2 separate regions of the Homo sapiens genome follow, and region 2 is linked to region 1. Evidence: promoter capture Hi-C in 16 types of primary human blood cells and fetal thymus (Javierre and others, 2016). All regions are on one chromosome and are shown on one strand. The core of a region is centred on a gene start or on the middle of the fragment in contact, and the rest is flanking DNA. Distances in the headings are between cores, read along the strand shown.

Region 1 (4,444 bases), core at 562-3,061:
AAAAACAGGACCTGAGAACTTGAGTAGACATAGTAGATAACTATTAAACAATAGGGAAAATTGGCTTGAAAACAAAAACATGATTTAAAAAATTACTATATTCATCTTTTTGATAGAGAGTAATTTTGAACATTTAGTATTTTAAGCATTTCTTCTAAAATTTAAGGATATGAAAAGTAAGAAAAGAATATGGAAAATTTAAATAATATTCTGTGAGACTTATACATAGTTGTAAAAGGAAGAAAACTTGTTGCCAGTGCCACTTACATCTGCCTCTTCTTTATTGACAATCTTCCAAATAAATTTAAATAGCATAGTTGCTTTGGGTCCTGTCGAGTTTGGCCTGGAATTGTAGGTGATTAGAAAGGATAGGGAAGCTTTCATGTGATACGTATTCATTGATTTATTAATTATTTAAGACCTACTTTATATTGAAGTATCCTACATGTTATAGGATACATGAGACATTCAAACAAACACAGGACATGCCACTCCCTACAAAAGTGCATGGTTCAATTGAGGAAGGAAGTCTTACAGATGGGACAGAGAACCAGAAAATAACATAAAGCCAACATGTAATGTGTAGGTCCACCTCTCTATCTTTGTAGGGATATAGCATTTCAGACCAAAACCTTTAATTTGGGTCTGAGAATTCAGGAACAAATATTTTCCTTGGTAAGGACATTTCTTGCACAATTTCTAATAGTGCAAAATTGGAAACACCGTGAAGGGCACCAACAAGGCAAGGTTGAGTAACTATTGTTCTTATCACAGGACGTCACATGGTCATTAAGAAGAATGGGGGAAAACTACATTAAGATGACCTGAAAAGATAAGGAACACATATTTTTTGAAGGATAAAAGTCAGCTGTATAGTGATCCATATACAATACTTCTATGTATATGTGTACCTCTATGTCTTAAACGTGTCTCATTGTATACATATACATGTGTGCATATAAGTGCAGACAGAATTGAAAACTAATGCAAAATTGTTACCAGTGTTTACCACTGAATAGTAGGAATGTGGAGAAATGATGAAGAGAAATTTGTGTTTTATTTCAAAGACATCTGCAGCATACGAATCTTTTGCAATAAATTATATAATTTTTCTGTTAAATTAAAAATAAAAAGAAAAATAAATATGCTGGGTCCTACTTTTTAGGTATTCTTAGGTGGTAGAAACAAGTAGCTTCTTTTGTAATATAAAGGAGGATGAGTTTCATTTGTAGTTTCTAGATGAAATTACAAAAGATAATATAGATTGAAGGCAGAAAGAATCCAATAAGCTAAAATCCAAAGACAACCTTTGACGGTAATTGGCTCTTATTTTACTTACATGCTCCAAACCAATCCCAATATTTATCAACATTCATGAAAAGAACATTTGCTTTCTTTGGCAAGCAAAGATAACTTTCTCTTTCAAGGGCCACATGTTTGTGCCTTCAGGTGCTCCTAAAGTTTCTATTAAGCCTAAAAACTGCAGTATAGAAAAGGCAGGGCGTATTGTTATAAATCATACAAAGAAAATGCATGTAGTATTTCAGTCTAGTTCTTACCTTCCTGAACGGAGTTCTTACACAGGTGTAAGGAAGATAAGTATTGAGAAAGGGAGAGTGGGAATGTGAAGTGATGCACATTAAGCAAGTTAGTAGGAATTTGACCTGTCTGGTCTTTCTCTGGGTTGGGCACAGCTTCAAATGCTTATGTGTGTATCACCACATACCCTCACTTCCTCCTTTCCTACCTCTTCCTTCTTACTGGCTTTGAGAAAGAGCATATAAATGACATCTTCAGGGCATGAGAAGCCACTTATCTGCAGACTTGTAGGCAGCAACTCACCCTCACTCAGAGGTCTTCTGGTTCTGGAAACAACTCTAGCTCAGCCTTCTCCACCATGAGCCTCAGACTTGATACCACCCCTTCCTGTAACAGTGCGAGACCACTTCATGCCTTGCAGGTGCTGCTGCTTCTGTCATTGCTGCTGACTGCTCTGGCTTCCTCCACCAAAGGACAAACTAAGAGAAACTTGGCGAAAGGCAAAGGTAGAGGCCCTGCTTCTCTGCACTTGTTGCTGCTTCTGCTACACCTGTCTCTGGGGTAAAGACTAGCTTGGTGCCTTTGGGGCTGGAGAGGGCCATTATACCAATAACTCCAATTGGAGGAGACACACAGGGGGGTCACTTCTCACTTCTTGTGTGCTGGGCAATCTTCTGGGCACTTTACTAAAGCGTTACAGATCATATTCACAATGGCTTTATGAGAGAGGTACAATTGCCCTCAATCTGCAAATAAGAGACCTGAGGAAAATATTCATGACCACCAATAGGTCACATTTTCTACCCTAGAGGAAAGTCTAGACAGTGACTTGTATGCTGAACTCCGCTGCATGTGTATAAAGACAACCTCTGGAATTCATCCCAAAAACATCCAAAGTTTGGAAGTGATCGGGAAAGGAACCCATTGCAACCAAGTCGAAGTGATGTAAGTTGCTGTTTCTGTGCTATTGCCTTATCAGAGAAACCCTCTACCTCCATCCACATATGCACTCGTTTCCTCCAGTCTCATGGATTAGTTCTGATATTCAGATCAGGACACCCACAGATAACCCTGTTCTCTTTTGCAGAGCCACACTGAAGGATGGGAGGAAAATCTGCCTGGACCCAGATGCTCCCAGAATCAAGAAAATTGTACAGAAAAAATTGGCAGGTGATGAATCTGCTGATTAATTTGTTCTGTTTCTGCCAAACTTCTTTAACTCCCAGGAAGGGTAGAATTTTGAAACCTTGATTTTCTAGAGTTCTCATTTATTCAGGATACCTATTCTTACTGTATTAAAATTTGGATATGTGTTTCATTCTGTCTCAAAAATCACATTTTATTCTGAGAAGGTTGGTTAAAAGATGGCAGAAAGAAGATGAAAATAAATAAGCCTGGTTTCAACCCTCTAATTCTTGCCTAAACATTGGACTGTACTTTGCATTTTTTTCTTTAAAAATTTCTATTCTAACACAACTTGGTTGATTTTTCCTGGTCTACTTTATGGTTATTAGACATACTCATGGGTATTATTAGATTTCATAATGGTCAATGATAATAGGAATTACATGGAGCCCAACAGAGAATATTTGCTCAATACATTTTTGTTAATATATTTAGGAACTTAATGGAGTCTCTCAGTGTCTTAGTCCTAGGATGTCTTATTTAAAATACTCCCTGAAAGTTTATTCTGATGTTTATTTTAGCCATCAAACACTAAAATAATAAATTGGTGAATATGAATCTTATAAACTGTGGTTAGCTGGTTTAAAGTGAATATATTTGCCACTAGTAGAACAAAAATAGATGATGAAAATGAATTAACATATCTACATAGTTATAATTCTATCATTAGAATGAGCCTTATAAATAAGTACAATATAGGACTTCAACCTTACTAGACTCCTAATTCTAAATTCTACTTTTTTCATCAACAGAACTTTCATTCATTTTTTAAACCCTAAAACTTATACCCACACTATTCTTACAAAAATATTCACATGAAATAAAAATTTGCTATTGACTTGTTGTCATCTATTATTAATTTTAACAGGATTGTTGGGGAAAAAAAGCTTTAATTTTCCTCTCTTTTTTGTATACTTGGTATTTCACAGTTTGAACAACAAAAGTTACTAAATTGATGATCGGTGTCATTCTTAATGTAGTATGATAACAGTTCCAATTTATTAATCATTTTAATATGCCAGGAATACTAAGTGTTTTCCATGCATGAACTAAACAATTTTTTAAAAGATAGATATGATCTGGTTAAAAGAACATCCTCTGGAGTTTGAATAATGAGGTAACCTGGCTCTGCCACTTGTTAGCTGTGTATATCAGGTCATGTTGCTTAATTTCTCTGTACCTTAGGTTCTTCATCCCTAAAATGGGGATAATATTGCCTCCCTCATAGAGTTTATGGAAGGATTAAAAAAGTTAATAAATTTAAGGTATTTAAAATAATGTGTGTCATAAATAAGCCACACATAAATGTTAGTAATTATTTCTTATGATTATTATTATCCTCCCCAGTGTTACAGAAGAGAAAAATCAAGTTTATAGAGTTTAAAATACTTGCCCACTTTCAGATAACTAAGTAGGTAACAGAGTGGGAATTTCAAATTGTGCTCTTAACCACCACACCACAGTGCTTTCCTCAACTCTTCTTTCTCTAATGAAGAGATTACATTACATATAACATAGTATTATTCACACATGTAATACAACTTGATACATAAATAGCATACTGTATATACTATAATAATTATAGGGTATCAGGCATCTCACTCATTATGTTTAGTGGTTTCCCACTGAAACTTGACAAGACCAGCTCCTGAGACATGGCACAGTGTTGACACCATGCTTATACCTCCCGAGATGCAGATGTCTTCTGTTTTTGAGTGCA
Region 2 (4,444 bases), core at 663-3,162, 110 kb before region 1:
TAAAGAGAGGGGGTCATTGAAATTGATGATGAAAAGTCAGTAATCCAGTGAGAAGGCATCAGCTAAACAGGCTTGGAAATGCTTTATTGACATTCCTCTAGAACTAAAATTTCCTCGATAGCTGTTTCTCTAGAGGGAACCAATCCCAGGATGCTGGTAAATACATATGGCATGGAAATGCAATTATGTTAGCAATCTAGTATGTATATATCAGACATGTCTGCTTGTGCTTAGAGTAGTAAACAAGCGGAGTCTCATTCCCTGCTCCTTTTCTGGTGGTGTCTATGGCCTTTTCTGCCCAGGGACAGCACTAGAAAAGGCAGACCTCCTGAGCCCAACAGGCCCCTCGCAGCTCCCAGTGACTTCCATGGATCAAAACACAGACTTCCATACAACAAAAAATTGATGCTACTGGAATTACTAGAGTTCGAGATGTTCCAAGATTTCAAAGAGAGAAAGGATGGGGGATTGCAACACTGTTAACTAAAATAAACACTGAATTGACCCTTGGCAATGGTCTGTTCCCGCACCCAACACCTGGCTCCACTACGTTGAAACACACACACACACACACACACACACACACACACACACACACACACGTGATATTTGCTTTTAAGATCATAAAACACCAGGAAGGAGACAAAAGCTCTTATGCGTCATCTGAGATGACACATGTACTGTTAAAGCGTGCGTTTATTTCAAACATTAATGAAATTTGCAGAACCCAAACTAAAGAGAGAGGATAGATAAGACATGCTGCAGTTCTTGCCCTAACTTTCAATCCCAACAACTGAAATGTCTTCCAGAGAAGTAACTCCCCCCGGTAAGGATGTAGCGCGGTCCCTACGTGGGTCTAAGGGATCTGACCCACGACGCACTGCACTGGGTTCACGAAGCGCCTCCTCGCAGGCGGTTATCTCGGTATCTCTGAGAGCGGCGGGCTCTCGCTCCCGCTCCAGGGATTCGGGGCAGAAAGAGAACATCCCACAGTTGGCGGGAGTTACGCAAGACAGTCAGACCCGGACGTCACTCGTGAGTGCCCCGACCCCCCTCCACCCCAGAGGCGGGGCCATCGCCTTCCTTCCGAACTCGGGATCGATCTGGAGCTCCGGGAATTTCCCTGGCCCGGGACTCCGGGCTTTCCAGCCCCAACCATGCATAAAAGGGGTTCGCCGTTCTCGGAGAGCCACAGAGCCCGGGCCACAGGCAGCTCCTTGCCAGCTCTCCTCCTCGCACAGCCGCTCGAACCGCCTGCTGAGCCCCATGGCCCGCGCCACGCTCTCCGCCGCCCCCAGCAATCCCCGGCTCCTGCGGGTGGCGCTGCTGCTCCTGCTCCTGGTGGCCGCCAGCCGGCGCGCAGCAGGTGGGTCCCGGCGCCCTGGGGTCCCCGGGCCGGACGCGGCTGGGGTGGGCGCCCCGCGCCGACAGCCCCGCTCAATCAGCGAGTCTCTTCTTCCCTAGGAGCGCCCCTGGCCACTGAACTGCGCTGCCAGTGCTTGCAGACCCTGCAGGGAATTCACCTCAAGAACATCCAAAGTGTGAAGGTGAAGTCCCCCGGACCCCACTGCGCCCAAACCGAAGTCATGTAAGTCTCGCCCATCGCTGCCGCTGCCACTGCTGGGGTCCCCGACTCTCCCGCTGCCCCAAACCCTGTCCTCAGCCCGACCTCCTGTCTCACGAGATTCCCTTCTCTCTGCAGAGCCACACTCAAGAATGGGCAGAAAGCTTGTCTCAACCCCGCATCGCCCATGGTTAAGAAAATCATCGAAAAGATGCTGAAAAAGTAAGTTATAATTTCCATGTACACAGGCGACTGGAGCTGTTGGTCAGAAATACTGGCGTCTGCCCCCTAAAAAGTAAATCAGGAAAACCCAGGGTTAGCTGCAGGACTGAAAAAATTATTATTTTCACAAAGTTGCCATTAAGGTTATTAATCTGTTCTGGTGCCAGAGGATATTCCCAGTGCCCAGGGTCACCACCCAGGTTCTTCCCTCCTGCCAGTGAATGTAGGTAAAACTGCTTTCATGTAAGGTCTCATTGGAGTTTGCCAGTTGTGCTGAAGTGTTTTCCACCTGTTAAAAAACACAAGCTTCATTTCCCCTAGTTCCTACTGACTTTCAGACCTGAAAAGCAGACCCCCTGGTTTTTTGTAAAAGTTTAGGGTTGAAGTGCAGAGATTTCACAATAATATTGCACTGGGTATATAACTGGTTGCCACCACCTATTAGCCATGTCACTCAGAGACAATATTATTTAGTTTATCTGAGACTCAGCAAAACAGGGAAAATAATGGTAGCTACATCATGAGGTTGCTTTGAGGCTCAAGTGAGGCCCAGTATGACAAAGAGCAATAGGCTCTGGCTGTTTTAGCCAGTAAAACAGTGTAGACTGCCACTCCTCCACCCCACGTCACCCCCATTCCTAAAAGAGCATCCCAAGCCTAGAGGTCCTTGCCACACAGCACAGCTGTCACAGGCAGTACCCACTTGGGTGCCAGGCTGGGGAAACTGCATTCAGAAAACTCTAGAGCCTGGGGAAACAGGACAGGAGAAGACTGTTGTGCAGTCAGCTTTCCTGAGCACCTACTCAGGGCACCCATTTTCTCATTACAGTGGCAAATCCAACTGACCAGAAGGAAGGAGGAAGCTTATTGGTGGCTGTTCCTGAAGGAGGCCCTGCCCTTACAGGAACAGAAGAGGAAAGAGAGACACAGCTGCAGAGGCCACCTGGATTGCGCCTAATGTGTTTGAGCATCACTTAGGAGAAGTCTTCTATTTATTTATTTATTTATTTATTTGTTTGTTTTAGAAGATTCTATGTTAATATTTTATGTGTAAAATAAGGTTATGATTGAATCTACTTGCACACTCTCCCATTATATTTATTGTTTATTTTAGGTCAAACCCAAGTTAGTTCAATCCTGATTCATATTTAATTTGAAGATAGAAGGTTTGCAGATATTCTCTAGTCATTTGTTAATATTTCTTCGTGATGACATATCACATGTCAGCCACTGTGATAGAGGCTGAGGAATCCAAGAAAATGGCCAGTGAGATCAATGTGACGGCAGGGAAATGTATGTGTGTCTATTTTGTAACTGTAAAGATGAATGTCAGTTGTTATTTATTGAAATGATTTCACAGTGTGTGGTCAACATTTCTCATGTTGAAGCTTTAAGAACTAAAATGTTCTAAATATCCCTTGGACATTTTATGTCTTTCTTGTAAGGCATACTGCCTTGTTTAATGTTAATTATGCAGTGTTTCCCTCTGTGTTAGAGCAGAGAGGTTTCGATATTTATTGATGTTTTCACAAAGAACAGGAAAATAAAATATTTAAAAATATAAAATGTTTGTTTTATTTTGGGGGAAACAAGGACTATATTTGCTGAAAAATCTGATGATTTACATCAATATTTATTTCTCAATTTTTTTCTGGGTTTTCAATCTGCTATACAGATAAACTATGAATTATGCCTAATTTCATGTGGTGATTGCTGTCACTCCCCTTGGCTCTCACCTAGTAAAGAATGTGCCTTACCAAACTATGGTCTTGCCCCTGATGGGAGAATCACTGATACATATTGCCATTTTTACAAGAAGTTCCTTACTACCTTGCTACTCAAATTTACCTCCTTAAAAATATGGAGGGGGGAAATATGGCAGAGACGTTTTAACCAGAGCAACTCCATCTTGAATAGGGGCTAGGCAAAATGGGGCTGAGGTTTACTGGGCTGGGCTGCATTCCCAGTAGGTTAGGCATTCGAAGTCACAGGATGAGATAGGAGATTGGCACAAGATACAGGTCATAAAGACCTTGCTGATAAAACAGGTTACAGTAAAGAAGCCAGCTAAAACCCACCAAAGCCAAGATGGAGACGAGAGTGACCTCTGTCGTTCTCACTCGTCATTATACACTAATTATAATATATTAGCATGCTAAAAGACACTCTTACCAGCCCCATGACAGTTTACAAGTGTCATGGCAACATCAGGAAGTTACCCTGTATGGTCTAAAAAAGAGAGGAACCCTCAGTTCTAGGAAATTGCCCACCCCTTTCCTAGAAAACTCATGAATAGTCCACCCCTTGTTTAGCATATAATCAAGAAATAACCATAAAAATGGCCAACCAGCAGCTCAGGCTGCTGCTTTGCCTATGGAATAGCCACTCTTTATTGCTTTACTTTCTTAATAAACTTGTTTTCATTTAAAAAAAATTAAATTCTTGTAGTTATCTTAACAAGGGATCGCATTTGTTTGCTTTTGCTAAATAATTTTTCATATAATTGTTGACAATTTAATGAAGCTGTCAATAAAATGGTGGCTAAAATATTTTGTTTTTCAAAACTCAAGTAGTTTGTGTCATAACAGAACCATAAAAAGTGAGTGGCTGAATACTTCACTTGTGGAAACTTCTGATTGAAATTTGGACCCAATGTTC

The links. Contacts are between HindIII fragments. The CHiCAGO score rates a contact against its expected background, and 5 or more counts as called.
Region 2: a contact is called between a fragment that was not itself captured here and the fragment with the promoter of PPBP in region 1, in 1 of 17 cell types (megakaryocytes). The highest score is 16.4, in megakaryocytes.

The regions. Positions count from the first base shown.
Region 1 is chr4:73,985,557-73,990,000 of GRCh38, reverse strand. PPBP (pro-platelet basic protein) reads left to right here and starts at 1,811. Exons shown (of 3, transcript NM_002704.3): 1 at 1,811-2,045; 2 at 2,349-2,484; 3 at 2,627-3,562. The coding sequence starts at 1,898. The coding sequence ends at 2,729. RefSeq lists an enhancer at 4,132-4,444. The HindIII fragment of the contact is 3,234 bases long and covers 380-3,613 here.
Region 2 is chr4:74,095,943-74,100,386 of GRCh38, reverse strand. It overlaps CXCL2 (C-X-C motif chemokine ligand 2), which reads left to right and starts at 1,192. Exons shown (of 4, transcript NM_002089.4): 1 at 1,192-1,366; 2 at 1,465-1,588; 3 at 1,703-1,786; 4 at 2,616-3,347. The coding sequence starts at 1,267. The coding sequence ends at 2,631. The HindIII fragment of the contact is 364 bases long and covers 1,731-2,094 here.